6 separate regions of the Homo sapiens genome follow, and all the other regions are linked to region 2. Evidence: promoter capture Hi-C in 16 types of primary human blood cells and fetal thymus (Javierre and others, 2016). All regions are on one chromosome and are shown on one strand. The core of a region is centred on a gene start or on the middle of the fragment in contact, and the rest is flanking DNA. Distances in the headings are between cores, read along the strand shown.

Region 1 (3,201 bases), core at 334-2,833, 260 kb before region 2:
GGCCTGAAAAAAATGTTTTCCAACTATTCTACCTGAGGGCTACTACCTGTGAGGCTTCATCTACATAACAAGACCACCTTCGCTGGACAAGCCTCTTCCTTTCTCCCTCCCATAACATGTCTTGCCACTAAAACCTGGTTTACCAACAGAACCTGGTTTTGGGTTTTTGGCCATGCTTTTTCTCATTCTGTCTATATTCTCAAAATAATATATAAGCTTCTGTAACTTGTTGGGGAATTGAGTCTTGATTCTGAAAGCTCCCATGTATACCGTTAAATTCATGTGCCTTTTCTCTTATTAATCAATCTGCCTCATGTCAGTGATTTTTTCAGCAAACCTTTAGGGGGCCTTGGTGCCCACAACTTAATTTCCACATGAAATTTTCCCTGTGTGTGTGTATGTGTCCAAATAGCCCTTTGTTCTAAGAAATTACAACAGTTCTATTGGATTAGGTATCCTTATAGGCCTAACCTACTCCAGAATAACTTTATTTTAACTAATTACATCTGCAATGACCCTGTTTCTAAATAAGGTCACATTCTGAGGTTACTAGGAGTTAGGATTTCAACATATGAATTTTTGGGGACACAATTCAACTTATAACGTCACACAAACACACAACTGAGTAAAATATAGTCCTTGCCCTTGAGGCCCTCACAAAGTTCCGAAACATGACCTAAGAAGCAGTTCATAGGTTTCAAGTAACAAATGGATTTTGTGCAGTTAGAGGACCTTTTAAAATTTTAAAGTAGACTTTAATTTTCAGAGTAGTTTTAGGTTCACAGCAAAATTGAGAGGAAGTTTTAGAAATTTCCATGTATCCACTCCCCCCACACATGCATAGACTCTTATGTTACCAACATCCTTCACCACAGTGGTACATTTGTTATAATGGATGAACGTATATCATTATTACTGAAAGAATATAGTCTACATTAAGGCCTGCCTAATTGAAACAGAGTTTTGAACTGATTTGGTTTTTACATTTTAGGAGAGAAAAGCAAGTGGCAGATTATGAGGTGAAAAGTATAATACATCAATGCTTATTTTGAAAATAGGCATTGTTAGGTTAAAATGAAATGTGCACATGGGACTGAATGCTCCTAAGTTCCTTTTCCTTAACAAAGGAAAAATGCATCTAATTCAAATTGATACAATTTTGGAAATAACCATGGTTACTAAAATGGATGCACTTTACACTGATTGAGAGAAAGCATTATGACAATAGCTGCTCTTTTCACAAGAGCAAATCTCTTCATGCAACTAAAAATTAAAGAGTCAGCCTATGATTTTAAGCAACAAATTTCAGCCTGAGACTATTCATTTAAGCTAAGCAACATGAGGGCTGCTGAGATTTGGTAAACACACAGACATGTACTTCAATGAGGGAACTGTGTGATGAAAGCACGACACAATGGTTTAGAGAAGCGGAATAATATGTTTTTATTTAGTACATTTATTAGATATGGATCTAGAGAATGGGATGATATCACTAATTTCAGACATAAAGACTGTTAGACATAAAGAAACCTGAAGTTCTATTAACTGAGTTGTTGTCCACCATTATTACCACAGGGTATTGATTTTGGGAATATCCACAAACTACAAATACATTTTGTGAAAGAAAACTGACGTTTATTACTCTTAATGAGTTTCCAAAAGTCTGGGGTTGTATAAAAGTGAAATTCTTGTAGTTGAAGGTGATGCTATCACAGAGCCAGGGCCTCTGGAGCTCTGTGGCTTTCTCTGGCTTCCTGAAGGCCAGGGGCACAGGTCACAGCCATCCAGACCACACTGGCTGCTTTGCTTGAGTTTATACCTCACTTGTGGTGAAAGTCATTACCTTATGTTAGCATCTGTATTAGTCTGTTCTTGCACTGCTATAAAGAAATACCTGAGACAGGGTAATTTATAAAGAAAAGGGGATTCATTGGCTCATGATTCTGGAGGGTGTACAGGAAGAATAGCGGCTTCTGCTTCTATGCTTACAAACATGGCAGAAGGCAAAGTGTAAAATTATGGCAGAAGGCAAAGGGGAAGCAGGCATATTTTTACATTGCTGGAGCAGGAGCAAGAAGAGATGCGTCAAATAGGATGCAAATACAGAGTGTTGTTTGATTTTTCGTGTCTTTATTTAATAACTTTTTCAGCAAATATGCATTGAGTGCTATCTATGCACTATCTTCTTTGAAAATCTTTCTTACTTAATTTTAGGGAACTCTCCTAACATGATAGGAGGATGTATTTTAAATACTAGTCACAATGCACATGCTAGAGAATATATATATATATATATATATATATATATGTAATTGACCACTTTGTACTTCTAAAAATAACACTTTTATAAGTTTTGGTATGCACACATACATATACACAGGACTGCAGCTATACAAAATTTTGCATTTACAGCCATGGTTTATTTTATGTTTGTTGCTTATTTCTATTATTTTCACAATTATTTGCATTATGGCTGAGTTAGCTATTGCTATGTAAAAAAGAATTACAGAATCCCAATGACATTAACAATAAACACATACTTATGCTCCAGGTCTACTGGTCTGTTTCATGTAATCTTTTAATCTCCTTGGACCAGCAGACTCCCTGATGCATGTTCTTGTCATGGCAGTGTCAAGCTGCAAGGGGGCATGCAACACATCTTAAGGCCTAGATGTGGAATGGACGCAATGTCACTTCCAACACGTCATTCCATTAGCCAAAATATCCAAGACATGGATACAAAGAGGAGGTGACGAATTGAGGCCAATAATACAATCTACACCATGGCCTAATATTAAAAAGCAATAATTTGTCTTTTTATATCACTAAAGTGTTCGAGGAAAGTGCTTTCCAATTAGGAAGGGAATCATCATCATCGTCATCACTGTTGTCATCATTATCACCATGATATCAAACACATATCATGCCTTCCATATCCCACACACTCTTCTAAAGCTTTACATTTAATTTTTGCACCACTCCTATGACATAGTCACTAGCGCTACTTCCATTTACAGCCAAGGAAATGGAGGCACAGAGGAATTAGTAAAAATGCTAATTTTTCCTAGGAACTCAAGACTATCTGGATGAATCTCAAACTGCACTATTCTAGCACAGACTCATGTGTTGAAGGATGTGGTAATATTTAACTTCTTGTCTACCTTCAAAGTCACAGAGAGAATAAAAAGCTCTACAATGGAG
Region 2 (3,458 bases), core at 736-3,235:
TTATCAACAATCCTTTAATTTTTTATTTTTATTTTTTTCCCTGGGATTTCGAACCAATATACTCCTAGCCTGAACAACATAGAACATTTCCTTTCCATTTTGGTAGAAATTATTTTTTAATGTAAATTATATTGTGTTCTATTTGTTTCCAATGTCTTGAAAAGTTCAATCACTTCTCCAAATTCTCCGAATAAACATAAGAAAATATCTCTCCCCAGCACTACCCGGTCCCCCAGTATCACCATCCTAAAGGCACTTCCACTTCCTCTATCATCAGGGAAGGAGTGTGCAGTTCTGATTTAGCTCCTCAGTGGAGTAAAGGGAATTTAGAGGAAGGGGGATTTCTGCAGAAATTGTCAGTTACACAAGTAAGTTCCTCTTGGTTCCCCGTTTCATCAAAAGTGAAAAACTGTTCACAGGAGTGCCCATGTCCCCTGTTTCCCTATGCATCACTAGAGCCAAGAGGGGACTCCGCCAGCAAGGCACCCTCTGCTCTGTCCCGCAGATCACAGTCCCCGACTTTCACCCCATTGTTTGTGCAATGTGCAGAACTGGAGCCCAAAGCAGCGGGCTCAGGATCACTCTCCAGGCCCGGCGGGCCCATAGACTCCTTCCTTGGCTGGGAAGAGGGGCTTTCGTGAAAGCAGAGCTTGACAAGCCCCAGTACTGTCATGGTCAAGATCACCAACACTACTACTGCTGTGCTCACAAATATGAAGACCACGGCAGAGGAGGAGTCGAAAGCCTGAGGAGTGGCAGAGGAAGTCGTAGAATTAAACTTGGAAATCACGCTCCCTGATGGGGTGATAGTGGCCTTTGACTCGGCTTGAAGGGACATTTGAAGGGTAGACATCGTGCTCTGTGATCCCCATCGAGGAATCTCAGGAATAGATGTTACTGAATTGTCTTGTTCAGGGACAAGTGGTGTCTCTCCCAGCTTCTCGTCGACCCTGATTGGCCATGTTCTCTGCGGCACGGGGCTGGTTGCAGTGGCCGGCGGGCGCCTGGTGGGCACCCCGGTCCCCCCAAGGGTCGGCTGTCCTTCCCCACTGGTCACACAAGAGCGGCCGTCCTTCCCCAGCTCGAAGCCCGTAGCACATTCGCAGGCAAAGCCTCCCAAGTCGTCTAGGCAGTTAGGGAGCTCTGCGCATTTGCCAGCACGGAGGTACCTCCCGGGGCAGGGACACAACACATCGCCCGAGAGTTTGTCCCAGCGAGCGCCGATTTCGTCCGCGATGCAAGTAACTGAGATCGGGAGCTGTCCCCGGCAGAGCGCACTCACCTCGGTCCCAGGTGGACTGAAGTCCAGAGCGGCGCTGTGCAGCTGGAAGGGCGCGCGATAGCTCAAGTTAGAGGCGGCCCCGGGGCGCGGCGCAGGACACAAGACCTCAAACTGGTACTTGCACAGGTAGCCGTTGGCGCGCAGGTGGCATCGCATCTCCTTCCAGCCTGCGGGCTCGACCCCACCGGTGGCCTGGAGTACCGCGCATCTCCGCGCGGTGCAGGAGCGTTGGGGCTCCTCCACCCACTGCAGCGTGTCGCTTTCGAGACCGCCGGGGTCGGAGGACAGCCAGGAGAAACCCCGCAAAGGCTCGTTCTCCAGGGTGCAGTGGGAACGCCTGCGCTCCAGTGCGACCCAGAACAGCAGGTCTTTGGAGCCCCCTCCGGGCCCTGGGCCTGCCCGCAGGAGCGCGAGCACAGCGCGCAGCTCGGCGCCCGCACGCACGGTGCTGAGCGCCCCACCTCGCAGGATGCAGGCCTCCTCGGCCGCCTGCCGCTTCATGGTAGCGTGGTGCAGGCTGTAGCAGGCCCCCGAGGCCGAGCAGCCAGCACGGTCGGCAGTGGGGTGTTCGCCGCCGCCCGGCCCGGGCCAGAGCGCCTGCCAGAGGAGGCACAGGGCGAACGCCGGCCTCATTCTCTGAGGCCCCGCACGCAGAGCTGCTCCCAACTTGGATCTGTCCCGCTCGAGGACGCAGAGCTGTGTCTGGAGCGCGGTCACCGCCCTCTACAGCTGGCTTCCCCAACCCGGTTCCCCCTCCCTTCCCCTCCGCCCTCGCTCCCGACGGACCCCCCAACTGCCAAGAATCCCCCCGCGGGCCCAGCGGCCAACAGTTTCCCTTAGGCCGCGACAGGAAATGTGTGCGGAGCGCTGCCAGGCCCGGTGCAGCCCTGAGTTATTCTGGGGTCAGGAACACAGCTGGCGCCGGGTACAGGGGACGCAGTCGACTAGAAGGTCAAACACCCTGCTTAGAGCAAGAGGAGAAATTCGCCACTGGGATGAAGTGTGTGGTTTTTCTCCGTTCAGGGAGTTTCATCAGGACCGCAGAACCCATAACACGTAAGCGAACATAGGCAGGAAGGACTTGAGAAAGGAACTGGCTTATGATTATAAGACCACGCCCGTCTATTGTGTTTCTGTCCGGAGCTGTGGAGTTAGCGTCAGAATAATTCGTAGACGGCTCCAGTGTTTGGGGGGCCTGTGCCTGTGGGGGAAAAATATGTTGTGAAACAACTTAGCAACTGCTTTTGCCACCAGAGGCAGCACTATTTAACCGCATATCTCTCTATGGGTCTTTGCTTCTCTATTATGTCAAGAGATTTCAGGAGTCCTAACTACTAAAGAATTTGGAGTTGTTTGGGTATTTTAAATGGGAAATTCTGCTTCTTCCATCAGCACTTGCTTTAGAAATTTATTTTTCACTTCCACGTGTTTCTCTTTGAGTTAGACCATATTGATTCATTACAGAAAGGAAATGTATTTCTAGGACTAAATGAAAAATAATGACCATAGATCTTAACAGTTAGGTTGTTAGCTTTCCTTGCCACTGTATTGGTTCAAAAATTCTTCAAGTTTATAGGTTATACATAAATGAGTTCGTGGCCTTATAAATATTCGAGAACAACTGCCCTATGTGTGATTTTAGCCTTGAACTATTTTAGTATCATTTTCTCCTATGATTGAGTGGCAGCATTTATAATAGTAAGTTGTAAACATCTCCTTTAAGGAAAATTAGAGTTCCTTAAGAAATTAAAATGTTTATTCCATTATAATGAATATTGTATACTGTCAAAAAATATCTTGTAATTTGAAAGATGGGTGAGCCAATTTCTTTAGAATTCCAGTGGGTGTTTTGTTTTAATATAAACATTTCAACTCAGTGGGAAGTGGCAAGGAATTAAAGATGAATAAAGAAGTAAAGGTTAAAAACTGTACTGTTATGAAAGGATTTCTTGTTAGCAACTTAGACAATTCAGTATCAGTTTAGAAAACGTACATTCTATCTTGGTTCATAATGGCCAAATACGTTGCCATCAGAAATACATAGAGAGTTTCAGCTAAGCCCTCTTAGAGATGTCTGATGCTTTTAAATATCTTTAATCAGAATGAAAGTTGCCATTCCATGGATAATGCATATAAGCTCACTTTGTTTTACTGCATTCAGGTTGATGAGGGGTGG
Region 3 (3,227 bases), core at 315-2,814, 280 kb before region 2:
CAGTAGTATTTCAGTACATTCACATTGTTGTGCAACCAATCTCCAGAACTCTTTTCATCTTGCAAAACTGAAACTCTGTACCCATCAAACAACAACTTCCCATTCCCTGCTCCTCCTATCCTATCCACCATTCCTCATTCTGTTTTTTTGAATTTGTTTAATCTAGGTTCTTTGTATAAGTGAAATCATACAGTACTTGTCTTTTTGTGACTGGCTTATTTTAGTCTGCACGATGTCCTCAAGATTCATTCATGTTGTAGCATGTGTCAGAATGTCCTTCCTTTTTGAAGTGGAAACGTATTTCGTTATTTGTGTATTCCACATTTTGTTTATCCATTCATGCATTGATGGACACTTGCTTTCTTCTACCTTTTAGACACGGTGAATATAACTTCTATGGTCATGGGTGTATAAATACCTCTTTGAGATGTGGCTTTCAATTCCCAGAAGTGGAGTTGCTGGATAATATGGGAATCCTATTTTAAATTTATTGAGGAACTACTATATTGTTTTCAATAGCAGCTGCATCATGTTACATTTCTACCAACAGTGCTCAAGAGTTCCAATTTCTCCACATCTTCACCAACACTATTTTTTTCTATTATCTTTCTTTTCTCTTTTTTTAAATAATAGTAGCTATCCTAATGAGTGTGAAATGCTATCTCATTGTAGTTCTGGGATGTTTCTATTTTTGGAGTTTGATGTCTTGTAAAAGATATGAGTAATACATAGGTGATAATTAAATTAATTCTTATTAAATAAGTTTTTATTAAATGATTGTATTAAACTAATATATTAATAAATATATTAAATAAATTAATTTAAAAATTGCTCTGTGAAGTTGAAATAATAAGAGAGAAGGCAAAAGGGTAATGACATAGCTTTTAAATCTCCTTGAATTCCACTCAAAAGTGGGCAATAAAGGTAGATAACAAAACCACTACTACCACCACCAATAACAAAAAATATGGAAACCTCTACAAAAATAAGAGGAGTGAGATACCCCATGAATTCAAAAATACAAAAAGCAAACCAATAATAGCAACAAGAAGGATGCTGTCTAAACAACTGTGTTGGAGAAAGTGGGGTAGGCAGAGGGAGAGCCAACAAAGTCAAAAATAAACAGGCTCCCTTTCAATGAGGGGAGTGCAACTGGCTTTTCTGAGAACAGTATCAAAAACTGGGAGGGGGCTTTGTTGTACTAATGTCCCAGCGAGTGTGAGGGGGCTAAAGGAAGGATACATGCTTAAGAAGTTATGGGGAGTTTCGGGTCCTAGGAACTCTCAAAATTAACAGACAAAAGTGTCCTTTCTGGACATAGACCTTCGCTGAAGACCAACTGTTGGGAGTAGGATCCAGATTGAGCAGTGCATGGGTTCTAGGAGCAGAGGAAAGACAAAATCTAGGAAAAGAATAAGGAAAAGGGACAGAGGAGCAGTGAGTATGAGAACCTATTTGCTGACATTCTTAACAGCAACACAAAAGAAAGCCCTAGAGTCATGAAGGCATGAAAGTCACCCTAAGCCCCCACTGACCTAGCACATAGAAACACCTAAAAGGACAGGGGGACCCATCTCACTTAAAGATGAAGCCACAGCAGAAGACATGAGTCACATCCCACACAGATTCATTACAAGATAAAGAGAATATGGAAGCAGAGCAACATTTTTATAGCAATCAGGTAAAAACCATTAACTAGTGTTTCAAAAACCATCTCAAAGAAATATAAATATTTTTAGAAACTATGAAGAACATCATAAATTAGAAAAACTAAGTGACAAAATGATTGGATGAAAGGAAGATTTGAAAGGAGAACTGGCCACACTAAAAATATAACAAAGGGGAAAAAACCCATTTTAGAACTAGACACTACTTAGAAGGAATTGCAGATAACAGCGTGGATACTATGAGACCAATAGATAATGGAAAGCAGAAAAATAGAAAAGATTAAACATTTGAAAACAAAAATAAAATGACTTCAAAGAAAGTTACAGGTATATAAGGTAGACAAAAATATATAATATATTTGAGTCCCCACAAAGAAAAGCAATGTGACAAAATAATACTAAGAGCTATGTTTCAAGAATAGTTTCCTGAAGTAAAAAAGGTCTTGAAGCAACTCTATGTTTATAAGAAAATTGTCTCAGAACAGCTGACACTGACACATATTCTAATAAACCAAGTAGGCGAATCAGAAAAAGAAAAAAAACTTAAAGTTTTTGGCCAGGTGCGGTGTCTCACATCTCTAATCCCAGCACTTTGGGAGGCCAAGGTGGGTGGATCACAAGGTCAGGAGTTTGAGGCCAGCCTGGCCAAGATGGTGAAACCCTGTCTCTACTAAAAACACAAAAATTAGCTGGGCATGGTGGCGCAGCTGTAGTTCCAGTTACTCGGGAGGCTGAGGCAGAAGAATTGCTGGATTGGGGATATGGAGGTTGCAGTGAGCCAAGATCACACCACTGCACTTCAGCCTGGGTGACAGCGAGATTTGGTCTCAAAAAAAAAAAAAAAGAATTCGAAGAAAAAAACAAACTGAGTTTTCAGGTGAAACATTCAGGTCACTTATAAGAGGAAAAAAGTCATAGTTAAAACAACTTTTTTTTTTTTTTTAAACAGCAATGGTTTATGCTAAAATAGTAACACCTACTAAAGTAAAAAAAAAATGTAAGTTTTATATCCTGTCAAACTGACTGTCAAGCATAAAGGTGCTCTTATGAACATGCTCAAGAGGATATTGTTTCTAACATTCCTTCCTGAGAAATCTTCAAACAACAAAAGTGACTACAAAGTATTGACTATTTATCTATGAGCACTGAATATACATTTACTTGTAAAACTGAGGCTAAATGACAGATGTAAGGGAAACAGTATAGTACATGACAACTGTGTTCTGACACTGTAGATAAAAATGACTCTGAAAAATGGCAGGAGAGGAATGGGGCACATTTATAAAATATAATATAAACTCTCTGGTGGGCTTATTGGTAATAAAGTAAAATGTTACTTAAAATTTGATGTTAGGGGAGAGGAAGAGGAAGAGATACAAAAGATAACTAGCTATTTTCAGTGTTGTTCATAGTAGGGAACAAACAGAAAGCTCCTGAAAATGAGGAGACTACAATGAACATTCATGTGCATGTGTCTTTATGGTAGAGTAATTTATATTCCTCTGGGTATATACCCAATAATAGGATTGCTGGGCTGAATGGTAGTTCTGCTTTTAGCTC
Region 4 (3,356 bases), core at 527-3,026, 280 kb after region 2:
CTGTGGCAATGGAGCCTGACTAAGACCAACATTTTATCCAGTTACAAAGCAGTTTATCAGCTGCCGGCATGGAGAAACTTCCTCAGCTAGTTAAGCCTTGCCTTATAATCATAATTTCTCATTCCTAGTCCCAGAATACTTTCCACTTAGCAGATCTTGCTTCCTGGCTTTATTGCTGAATCAGCCAATAATAACTAATTTTATGTCTCCTTTGAATCCTGCCAATCTGGCTTATTTGGGGAGAGAGAAAGTAGGAGAGTCAATCAAAGTAGTCACATTTCACAGTCTCTCTGACAGCTTTTCAGAAGGAACTCATCTAAATTGCATTCCATTCACTCAGTCTGATGGATGTTTACTCAGAGGGTGCAGCAGCCAGTGGAGGGGCTCTGTTAAGCACTTGCGAAGGGCCTCCAACACCACACAGATAATCCCGGCCTTAGCTGTGTCTCCACTTGGATGTCTCAGGCCTCAGTGTTTTGGATTCCAAGAACTAATAAAATTGTCAAAGAATGTTGGTAGCCAATCCATATTTACCAGATTTTAGCAAATCTAGTTAGCAAACTGTCATCATTTCAGGAAAAGATCATTTTTAAACAACAACAACAACAAAACAGGAAGTTATTAACTAAGAATTTTTTTTAAATCTTAGCATAAAAGGAGCATTATGAAAAATTCATTGCATTGTCCTTCTTTTTCCATTTTTCTTCAAATTGGTGCAAACTTTCTTGCAGAAATGTGCCCTAGAAGGCAAAAACAATTGTTTTCCTCTTTATTTGAGGAAGATTAATAAGGAGAGAAGTGCAACAAATGAGAGTGTGTGTGACTTTCCATGCCAGTCTGTCTGTGTCCTTCTCCAGCAAATGTACCCAGGCACAATTTGAGGCCTTTTTCATGCCCTATGACCACGACTCCCCTCCGCAACTATTACCTCAGGAACCCTCCTGAACCTCCTAGAATCTCGCATTGGACACTATCTTTTTAATATGTATCATATGTATGCTATTCAAAATTAAAAGTAAATTTTGAAGAAAAAAAACTCTACTTATGAGCCAATGTAACAGAAGAAAAAAAAACTTATATTTTTTCTATTTCAACAAATGTACACTCTATAATAAAATACCAGTATTCTCTCACAACATAAAGTTTTTTCTAAGGAAGCTTTTATTTTTCTAGTGCTGATGCTCATCACAGACAATGCTGTCACAAAACCACCTGATGTGTGTCCTGTACTATGCACTACGGGATTGGGGAAGTTAATTAATCAGAGTTCTCTAGAGGGACAGAACTATAGGTTGATGCAAAAGTAATTGCTGTTTTTGCCATTAAAAGCAATGGCAAAATAAAAGGATAGACATACATATGAAGGGTAGTTTATTAAGGAGTATTGACTCACACGATCACAAGGTGAAGTCCCACAATAGGCCGTCTGCAAGCTGAGGAGCAAGGAAGCCAGTCCGAGTCCCAAAACCTCAAAAGTAGGGGAGCCAACAGTGCAGCCTTCAGTCTGTGGCCGAAGGCCCAAGAGCCCCTGACAAAGCACTGGTGTAAGCCCAAGAGTCCCAAAGCTGAAGAACTTGGAGTCCGATGTTCAAAGGCAGGAAGCATCCAGCAGGGGAGGAAGATGAGGAATGGAAGACTCAGCAAGTCAAGTCCTTCCACGTTCTTCTGCCTGCTTTTATCCTAGCTGCACTGGCAACTGATTAGACTGTGCCCACCCAGATTGAGGGTGAGTCTGCCTCTCCCAGTCCACTGACTCAAATGTTAATCTCCTTTGGCACCACCCTCACAGACACACCCAGGAACAATGCTTTGCATCCTTCAATCCAATCGAGTTGACAATCAATATTAACCATCACAGGAAGTAAACAAGGAGACCAAGCTCTCCGTGTTAGTCCCATGGACAAGTTACTACACCTCTCTGAGACTCTCTTGTGGTGTGGAGATATGAATATTTTTCAACTCAGAGCATTATTGCAAAGACCAGCTTTGGCATGTAGAAATACCTTGTAAACTATAAAATTATCTACATGTATGAGATATCATAGTTATTGATTTTTAATAGAAAGTGATAAAAAAGTAATCGTTTTCAAAAATAAATTCCAGAGTAATAATGACAATGATGATAATGATGATGATGGCAGCACAATGTAAAAATAAGAAAAACATTTCTTTAGGGCTTTCTTTGTGCCAAGGCATTTGCACTAAGCACTTCATGTCATTTTTCATGTAATCCCCACAACAATGCCATGAAGCAGACTCTACTATTATCACAGTTTAATAAATGAGAAAATTGAATTTTAGATAAATTGATAGACTTGCCTACTTCACACAACAAGCATAAGTCAGAGCTGCGATTCAAGCCCTGGTTCTGTCTGATTCATAAACCTTGCAAGCAAAGCTTAGCAAAAAAAAAATCAGAAAGCCACCAAAAAGACCTTTCTTGTTTGTTAAAGCTAAGCTTAGAGCAAAGAGAAAAAAATAAGTAGAGCTTGGCCTAAATCTTAAAAAGATGTAAAACTTAACTGATGACAGAAATGAAATAGAGATATTAAACTATTTTGCTTCCCTTTACAGCATCACAAAGAATAATTGTCAAACTGGAAAGAATAAATACAGTTAAAGGAAAACCAAAAACTGAGGTAGAATTTTGATATTAGAAGGAGCCTCAAAAAATCATACAGTTTTATGTTTTTCATAACAGATAAGGAACCAATATTTTAGGTGCCTTGCTCAAAGTCATAAGTAAGTCCTTGACAATATTTGGACAGAACTCTGGCATCCTGACTCCTGGCTTAATGCTCTTTCCACCTATTATGTTTGAGAGATAATAATGAAGCTCAAGTCCCTGGGTTCCAATGAGTCAAATTACACAGGATATGGAATATCTGATGGTAATTTCTCAAATCACAGAAAATGAGAAATAAAGTGGAAGATAAGAGTTATCCTTACACTGCACAGCAAATAGAATAAGTATTATTAATTTGATTAGAGGTACTGCTTACCTTGTTTGCTCACTCTGCACCAGAATTTATCTTATGCATCAAGGAAAGTTCACAATTTATTTAGCTATGTATCAATAACTGGAGAGTTCCCTTTAAATTTTAGATGCTATAAAAGTTAATGGAACATAGGTAGACTTTTACTAAAAAATAAGAATTGTATGCATCTCATCACATATACGCTAGCTATATTACCTGCCATGATGAAAAGAATCATTAATCACTTTTAAATAAAGTTTAATACAAATAATTAAAAAATAATGTTGGCATTTCAGTAATTTCCTGTAATTGTAATAATTAATGTAGGGTTGAAATATTTCTCAATTTAGTAACAAAGTTTTTTGGTTATTACATTTG
Region 5 (3,204 bases), core at 656-3,155, 310 kb after region 2:
AAAAGAGGAAAAATTATCTTTGTTTGCTGATGACATGGTCACACACTTAAAAAACCCTAAAGATTCCTTCAAAGGAATTCTAGACCTGATAAATGACTTTAGTAAAGTTTCAAGATACAAAATTAATGCACAAAAATTAGTTGCATTTCTCAACAATGCTCAAACTGAGAACCAAATCAAGAATTCAATCCCATTTACAATTGCCACACACATAAAATATCTAGCAGTAAATTTAACCAAGGCAGTGGAAGACCTCTAAAAGGAGCACTATAAAACACCAATGAAAGAAATTATAGATGATACAAACAAATGAAAAAATATCCCATTCTCCTGGATTGGAAGAATTAATATCATTAAAATAACTACACTGCCCAAAGCAAGCTACATATTCAACGTAATTCTTATCAAATTACCAATATCATTTTTCAAAGAATTAGAAAAAACAATTCTAAAATTCATATGGAACCAAAAAAAAAAAAGCCTGAATAGCCAAAGAAATCTAAAACAAAAAAGAAAAAAGCTTGAAGCATCACAGTATCCAACTTCAAACTACACCACACAGTTATAGTAGCCAAAGCAGCATTATACTTGTACAGAAATTGACCCATAAACCAATGGAACAGAGTAGAGGATCCAGAAATACAGCCAGACATCTACAACCAACTGGTCTTCAACAAAGTCAACAAAAATAAACAGGAGGAAAGGATATCCTATTCAATAAATGGTGCTAAGAAAACTAGCTAGCCATATGCAGAAGAATGGAATTGGACACCTACCTCTCACCATATATAAAAATTAACTCAAGATCAACTAAAGACTCAATCCATGTATGACCTCAAACTATAAAAATCCTAGAAGAAAACCTAGGAAAATCTCTTCTGGACGTTGGCCTAGGCAAAGAATTTATGACTAAGACCTCAAAAGCAAATGCAACAAAAACAAAAATAGACAAATGGGACTTCATTAAACTAAAGAGTTTCTACACAGCAAAAGAAATGATCAATGAAGTAAACAGACAACCTATGGAATGGGAGAAAATATTTGCAACCTATGCATCTGGCAAAGGACTAATATCCAGAATCTATAAACACTTAAATAAATCAACAAGATAAAAACAAATAATCCCATTAAAAAGTGAGCAAAGGACATGAACAGACACTTTTCAAAGGAAGGCATACAAGCAGCCAAGAAACATTTTTAAAAATGCTAAATATCACTATCAACAGAGAGATGCAAATTAAAACTGTAATGAGATACCATCTTCCACCAGTCAGAATGGCTTCCTGCTTTCTGAATCCTCCCTGTTACACTGCACAGATGTAGCCAAAGGTGCCAGTTTCTCTCAAATTTGGACTAAAACACTCATCATAGTTACAAATCTTTCCTCCAATCTGGTGCTGGGAATGATATGCACCATCAATCTCCTCTTCTCTCTAGGGCTTGCCAAAGATCAAAAAAAAAAAAACTTATAACTGTAAATTACTCTCAGTGTTGACACATTCTGAAACTGTCTGTGTGCATCAGGAAAGAAGGAAAGCTCAGTTGCTTCTAAGAAAAAAAAATGCATGTTTTTCATGCTCAGGGCCTTCCTCCTGAAAATCAAATTGGAAAACACCATTTCGAAAGGCACATTCAAAGACGGGAACAATCTGTGAAAGGAAAAATAGCTACTAGAAGCAAGTAAAAATTCTATGCTTTGGATCTTTGAAAACAAGATAAAAGCACTTTTCAAAGCAACAAAATCTGAGGAACTCAGAAAAAATTGAAGTCAGTTATGATTCTGATTTGTCAACACTCTTCTTATAAGAGGAAGCTGGAGTTAATTTTTTAAATATTGCCTTTGCCCATTATATAGGAAGAAGGGTTTGAGTTTTTTCTTCCGTAATGTGCCTATAGAAGCTATATTGCAAGCAAGATCCCATTGTCTATAGAATAAAGGCCAAAATCCTTGGTACAGTTTACAAAGCTCTTCATGATCTGGCCATTGCCCAGCTTTCTGGCCATATCTACCCCCATAACCCCATATGCATCTTTTGCTCCAGCTGTACTGCATATTAGCAATTTTTCAGATTTTCCATATTCAGGTCTCTGCACATATGTTTCTTGCTATTTTTGGAATGCTCACCTCTCCCACTCCACTGTCTAGCTAACATCATTTTTCCTCCAAAACTCACTGTAAGTGTCATCTACTAGAAATTTTCCCTGAATCCTATAGGATGAAGCAAGTCTACCTCTCTTCTTAATGTTTTCTGTACTGTCTATGTTAATGCATACACTCAGTAAACTTAAAGCCAGAAAGTCACCTAATGGCACAGTGATTTTAATCTATTATCCCTGAATGTACTGAATAGACTGAATCTACAGAAGGATTTTTTAAAACTACCTACAGCAGGTGTTTGGCAAATATGAATATCCAAGAATAGTTTTATAAAGAACATATAATACCAAGAACGTTAAAAATTAATTATTATATATTTTAAATTATACTGAGGTTTATATTCTTCCATATGTCTTTGAATCAATTCATTTTATTTATTTATAATCATTGATTTATAAGTACACAGCAACTTCATACCCTTGAAAATATTATTTTCTAGTTTAAACTCTTATAGCTTACAGAAAATATAACCCAACATTTAAATGCATCTAGTAGTGAATCAAATTTATTAAAGCAATCATAATCTTATGTATGCTTGTACACTGTACTTTGTTAAATAAGGCATCTCTTGAACAATCAATTACATGTGGATCATCACAAAAAGCTGCTGGAATGGTGGGAGTTCATTAAAATGAACAAAATTCCTGTCTGAAATGTGTTTTAAGCAGGGGTTTAGAAGATAGAGGGAATATGCTTTTCTTACGGACAGGAGTGATAAATACTGCAAAATAGTGTATCAGTATGATTATTTGCAAGTAAATATTGGTGAATTGTATATGGCAGTGAATTCTGCTTTGCTGAAGAAATATAAATAATTTTGTTAATTTCTACTATATCATTTCTACTACACAGTAGAAATTATAAACTAGTAGATAGTAGTAGAGGAATACAAATTTAGGGTTGGAGGGAATAGTATGTGAGCTTGGAGTGGAAGGTGGGGATGAGACAGAGATCCTAGGTGACAATCGAAGAAGTTTTGGGGATAAGAGTAAAGCTCTATTTGATCGAATTAAGCAATTGGAAGTCACCTCAGCTTCTAAGAAAAA
Region 6 (3,130 bases), core at 292-2,791, 290 kb before region 2:
ATATATACACACACACACACATATATATGGAAAAGATAGTTTTCTGGAGAGAACTTTTTTTCAATGATGTAGGACACTACTATTGTCCATACAGAATTTTAAAATGCAGAAGTTAGGACTTGAAATGCTGACAGACTCACAACCTCAGAGGCCAAATGGCACCACAATGAATTCTCATATTTTTTACTTTCAAAAAACCCTAGAGACCGCTTTTATTGCATATTTTATGGAGCCATCTGTCTTTTTACTAGAGCTAGTATAGGTTCAAAACTTTAAATACAATTTTTCTTTTTGTCAAAGGGCCACAACTGCATGCAGTGCCATGGCCAGTAGTAAATTTCCAGGGTTTACAATGGAAGGAAGAGTCAGCACAGTATTAAAGCCTGATGCACCTGCTGTTATGGCAACTGCACTCTAGGAGGCATTTCTCATTAGATGTGTTTTTCTACCTTGGCCAAGATTAGTCAATGTCATAAATCATCTTAATTGATAATATTCTTTTTAGAGATCTTTTGGATTTGCTGACATGAGGTCATTTAAAATTCTTTATATTTCAAATAAGACCCCATAAAGTGAAAGGCTTCCTTCAAATCCATATTTTGCTGCCTGGGAATAAGGGGGTGGGGGTGCAAAATATGAAGAATATGTGCTTGCTTGGGGTAAAGCACTATGGTAACTATGTGAAAGAAATGGTTTAAGCTTCAGTGGAGCCTAAATATAATTTAGACATACACAATGCAAGTCCAAGGATATTTGTACATAAAGTATACAGGGCTTGATATAGGGAAAGCATTTTATGCAGTCAGTCATTATCCACTAGGCTGCTACTCCTACTGATACTATGCTTAAAATCAGATTTGAAAAAAATCATAAGTCATAATTCATGTCCATCATAATGGAAATGCTGCTGAGGTCATTTTCACATTTATTATGAAAGATGCCTCAACTTCCAAAAGGCTATAGATCATATTAGTGAGAATGCAAGAGTAGAGGAACTCATAATTTTAATTAAAGCTGCCAGCAGCGTTTTCCAAAATTTTTTGGAGCATGCTAACGGTGTCTTCTGGGAGGATTGTTAATATTCAGAGTTAGGAGGGAGTATACTTGTTTCTCAGAGGTTGATCTAGAAAATTAGGTTTGGAATAGAGAATAATCTGGGCACTGTTTTGTTTTTAGCAAGAGTAATGGTGGAGGTGGTAGGGCAGTTGAGAAAGCACTGTGGAGTGAATGGCAAATTTCTCTCAGAAGTTTAGGTCAGTGGGTCTCAAATTTGGGTGCATAAGAATCAGTTGGTGTACCGGTTAAAAATGTAGATTTCTAGATCCTAGTCCCCAGTGATTTTTATTGAGAATATAGAGGGTGGGACCCAGGAAAACTGCAGTGTCAAGAAGCCCCCTTCTGATTCTGATCAGCTACCCTATGGTCCACACTGTAAAATATTGGGGACCCTGTCATGACTTAAATTTGTATGCTAATTGTATTAGTCCATTTTCACACTGCTATGAAGAACTACCTGAGGCTGGGTAATTTGTAAAGAAAAGAGGTTCAATTGACTCACAGTTCCACAGGTTGTACTGAAGGCATGGCCTGGGGGGCCTCAGGAAACTTATAGCAATGGTGGAAGGGAAAAGGGGAAGCAGGCACATAATCACATGGCAGCAGGAGAGAGAGAGAACAAAGCAGGAAGCGCTACACAGCTTAAACAACCAGATCTCATGAGAACTCACTCACTATCATGAGACAGCAAGGGGGAAATCTGCCCCCATGATCTAATCACCTCTAACCAGGTACCTCCCCCAACACTGGGAATTACAATTCGACATGAGATTTGGGGACATAGAACCAAACCATGTCACTAATATTTCTAGATTTCATTCTGAACAGTAATAACTTACTAAATACACTATTTCTTCTTAAAAACCTGAGGGTAGTAGCAGTAGTATTTTTTTCAAATCACAATAGATGAACATACTTGATTTAAAAGCAAAACATTATGCTTTTAATCAATAATAGGCTGACAGAAACTTGAATGAAGTTTCTACATGGAAGTCACATAATATATTGACAGCAAAACTACTAGACTGATGATACATTGTCTGTCCTATTGCCGGTCCTATCCCAGACTTCAGATATGACAAGTACCTTCCCTTGCACACTTACACAGACATCATTCATTGATAATACCATACTTTCCAGCTACATCAGATGCAACCTCAGAATTCTTCTCAGCAAAAACAGTCATTACCAAGTTATCAAAGCTGGTGTGGGTGTGCAATTGTATTTGACATAACTGTCCCATCCCAAACAAAAAGCACTCTTCTTTCCTTCTTTATTTTATTCTCTCCTTCCTTTCCTCTCTCCTTACCTCTCCTCCCCACCCTCCAAAGCTTTCGGAAACAAGTGGTCCATATAACTCATATTGAAGCAAAATGGAAGACCCTATTTTGTCCTAAATTAAATCAAACCAAGAGCAGGGCTTCCGGGATCTTAAAAGAAAGCATGAAACTCCACCTATTTTCTTAGAAAATTCTCCTGGTAATGGTACATTTGTTTCTAAACAGGCAACAGATGGTCGATATCTATCCATTTTTAAGAAGATAGTGATTTCAAACCACATCTTCAAGTTCATCAAAGTACCGAGGAATCAAGAATCCTACATTTCTTTTTGAGGTTTCAATTTTGAATAAGCCGACAAAATAAACACTCTAAATTATTTTAGGAAAACATCATGTGTCTCAATTTAATCATTTTTTATGCTTAGCCAAATTGTATTTTGTGTACTTTTCTCTAAAATCTATACTTTGTTAAGTTGTGATGGTTAGATCATGTTTTAAAGTAGAAAATAACATAATCTCATTTTAGGAAATGTAGGATACTCAGAAAAATATGTAAAAGAAAATGAGCACCACCTATAAAATCACTACCCAAAGATAACTACTATTAAGACTTTGGTACATTTTTATTCATTCTATTATCCATGTATCTTCATGTGAATGTGTCTTTTTCTTTGATTTTCCCACAATATCTAGGTCATTTGGGGCATACTGTTTCCATCTGTCTTTTTTTTTTAATTTTCTTTTCTCATCTTTTATTTTCTTTCTTGCTTTTTTTTTTTCTTTTAGACAAGGTC

The links. The method cuts DNA at HindIII sites, captures the fragments that hold promoters and counts their contacts. A CHiCAGO score of 5 or more calls a contact.
Region 1: a contact is called between a fragment that was not itself captured here and the fragment with the promoter of CLEC14A in region 2, in 2 of 17 cell types (neutrophils and naive CD8 T cells). The highest score is 6.0, in neutrophils.
Region 3: a fragment that was not itself captured here is called in contact with the fragment with the promoter of CLEC14A in region 2 in 2 of 17 cell types (neutrophils and naive CD4 T cells); the score reaches 11.7 in neutrophils.
Region 4: a contact is called between a fragment that was not itself captured here and the fragment with the promoter of CLEC14A in region 2, in 1 of 17 cell types (endothelial precursors). The highest score is 5.2, in endothelial precursors.
Region 5: a contact is called between a fragment that was not itself captured here and the fragment with the promoter of CLEC14A in region 2, in 1 of 17 cell types (endothelial precursors). The highest score is 6.2, in endothelial precursors.
Region 6: a contact is called between a fragment that was not itself captured here and the fragment with the promoter of CLEC14A in region 2, in 2 of 17 cell types (neutrophils and naive CD4 T cells). The highest score is 12.8, in neutrophils.

The regions. Positions count from the first base shown.
Region 1 is chr14:37,995,180-37,998,380 of GRCh38, forward strand. No RefSeq gene overlaps it. Among named protein-coding and RNA genes, the nearest start is that of LINC00517, 95 kb to the left of the region's middle. RefSeq lists an enhancer at 1-212. The HindIII fragment of the contact is 2,739 bases long and covers 215-2,953 here.
Region 2 is chr14:38,254,108-38,257,565 of GRCh38, forward strand. CLEC14A (C-type lectin domain containing 14A) reads right to left here and starts at 1,986. Exons shown (of 1, transcript NM_175060.3): 1 at 1-1,986. The coding sequence starts at 1,915. The coding sequence ends at 443. LOC112268136 (a long non-coding RNA gene) reads left to right here and starts at 1,938. Exons shown (of 5, transcript NR_169588.1): 1 at 1,938-2,338. RefSeq lists an enhancer at 1,168-1,795. The HindIII fragment of the contact is 4,914 bases long and covers 1-3,458 here.
Region 3 is chr14:37,976,899-37,980,125 of GRCh38, forward strand. No RefSeq gene overlaps it. Among named protein-coding and RNA genes, the nearest start is that of LINC00517, 76 kb to the left of the region's middle. The HindIII fragment of the contact is 8,676 bases long and covers 1-3,227 here.
Region 4 is chr14:38,536,565-38,539,920 of GRCh38, forward strand. No RefSeq gene overlaps it. Among named protein-coding and RNA genes, the nearest start is that of CLEC14A, 280 kb to the left of the region's middle. RefSeq lists an enhancer at 79-580. The HindIII fragment of the contact is 1,240 bases long and covers 1,157-2,396 here.
Region 5 is chr14:38,566,580-38,569,783 of GRCh38, forward strand. No RefSeq gene overlaps it. Among named protein-coding and RNA genes, the nearest start is that of CLEC14A, 310 kb to the left of the region's middle. The HindIII fragment of the contact is 2,774 bases long and covers 519-3,204 here.
Region 6 is chr14:37,960,620-37,963,749 of GRCh38, forward strand. No RefSeq gene overlaps it. Among named protein-coding and RNA genes, the nearest start is that of LINC00517, 60 kb to the left of the region's middle. The HindIII fragment of the contact is 1,688 bases long and covers 698-2,385 here.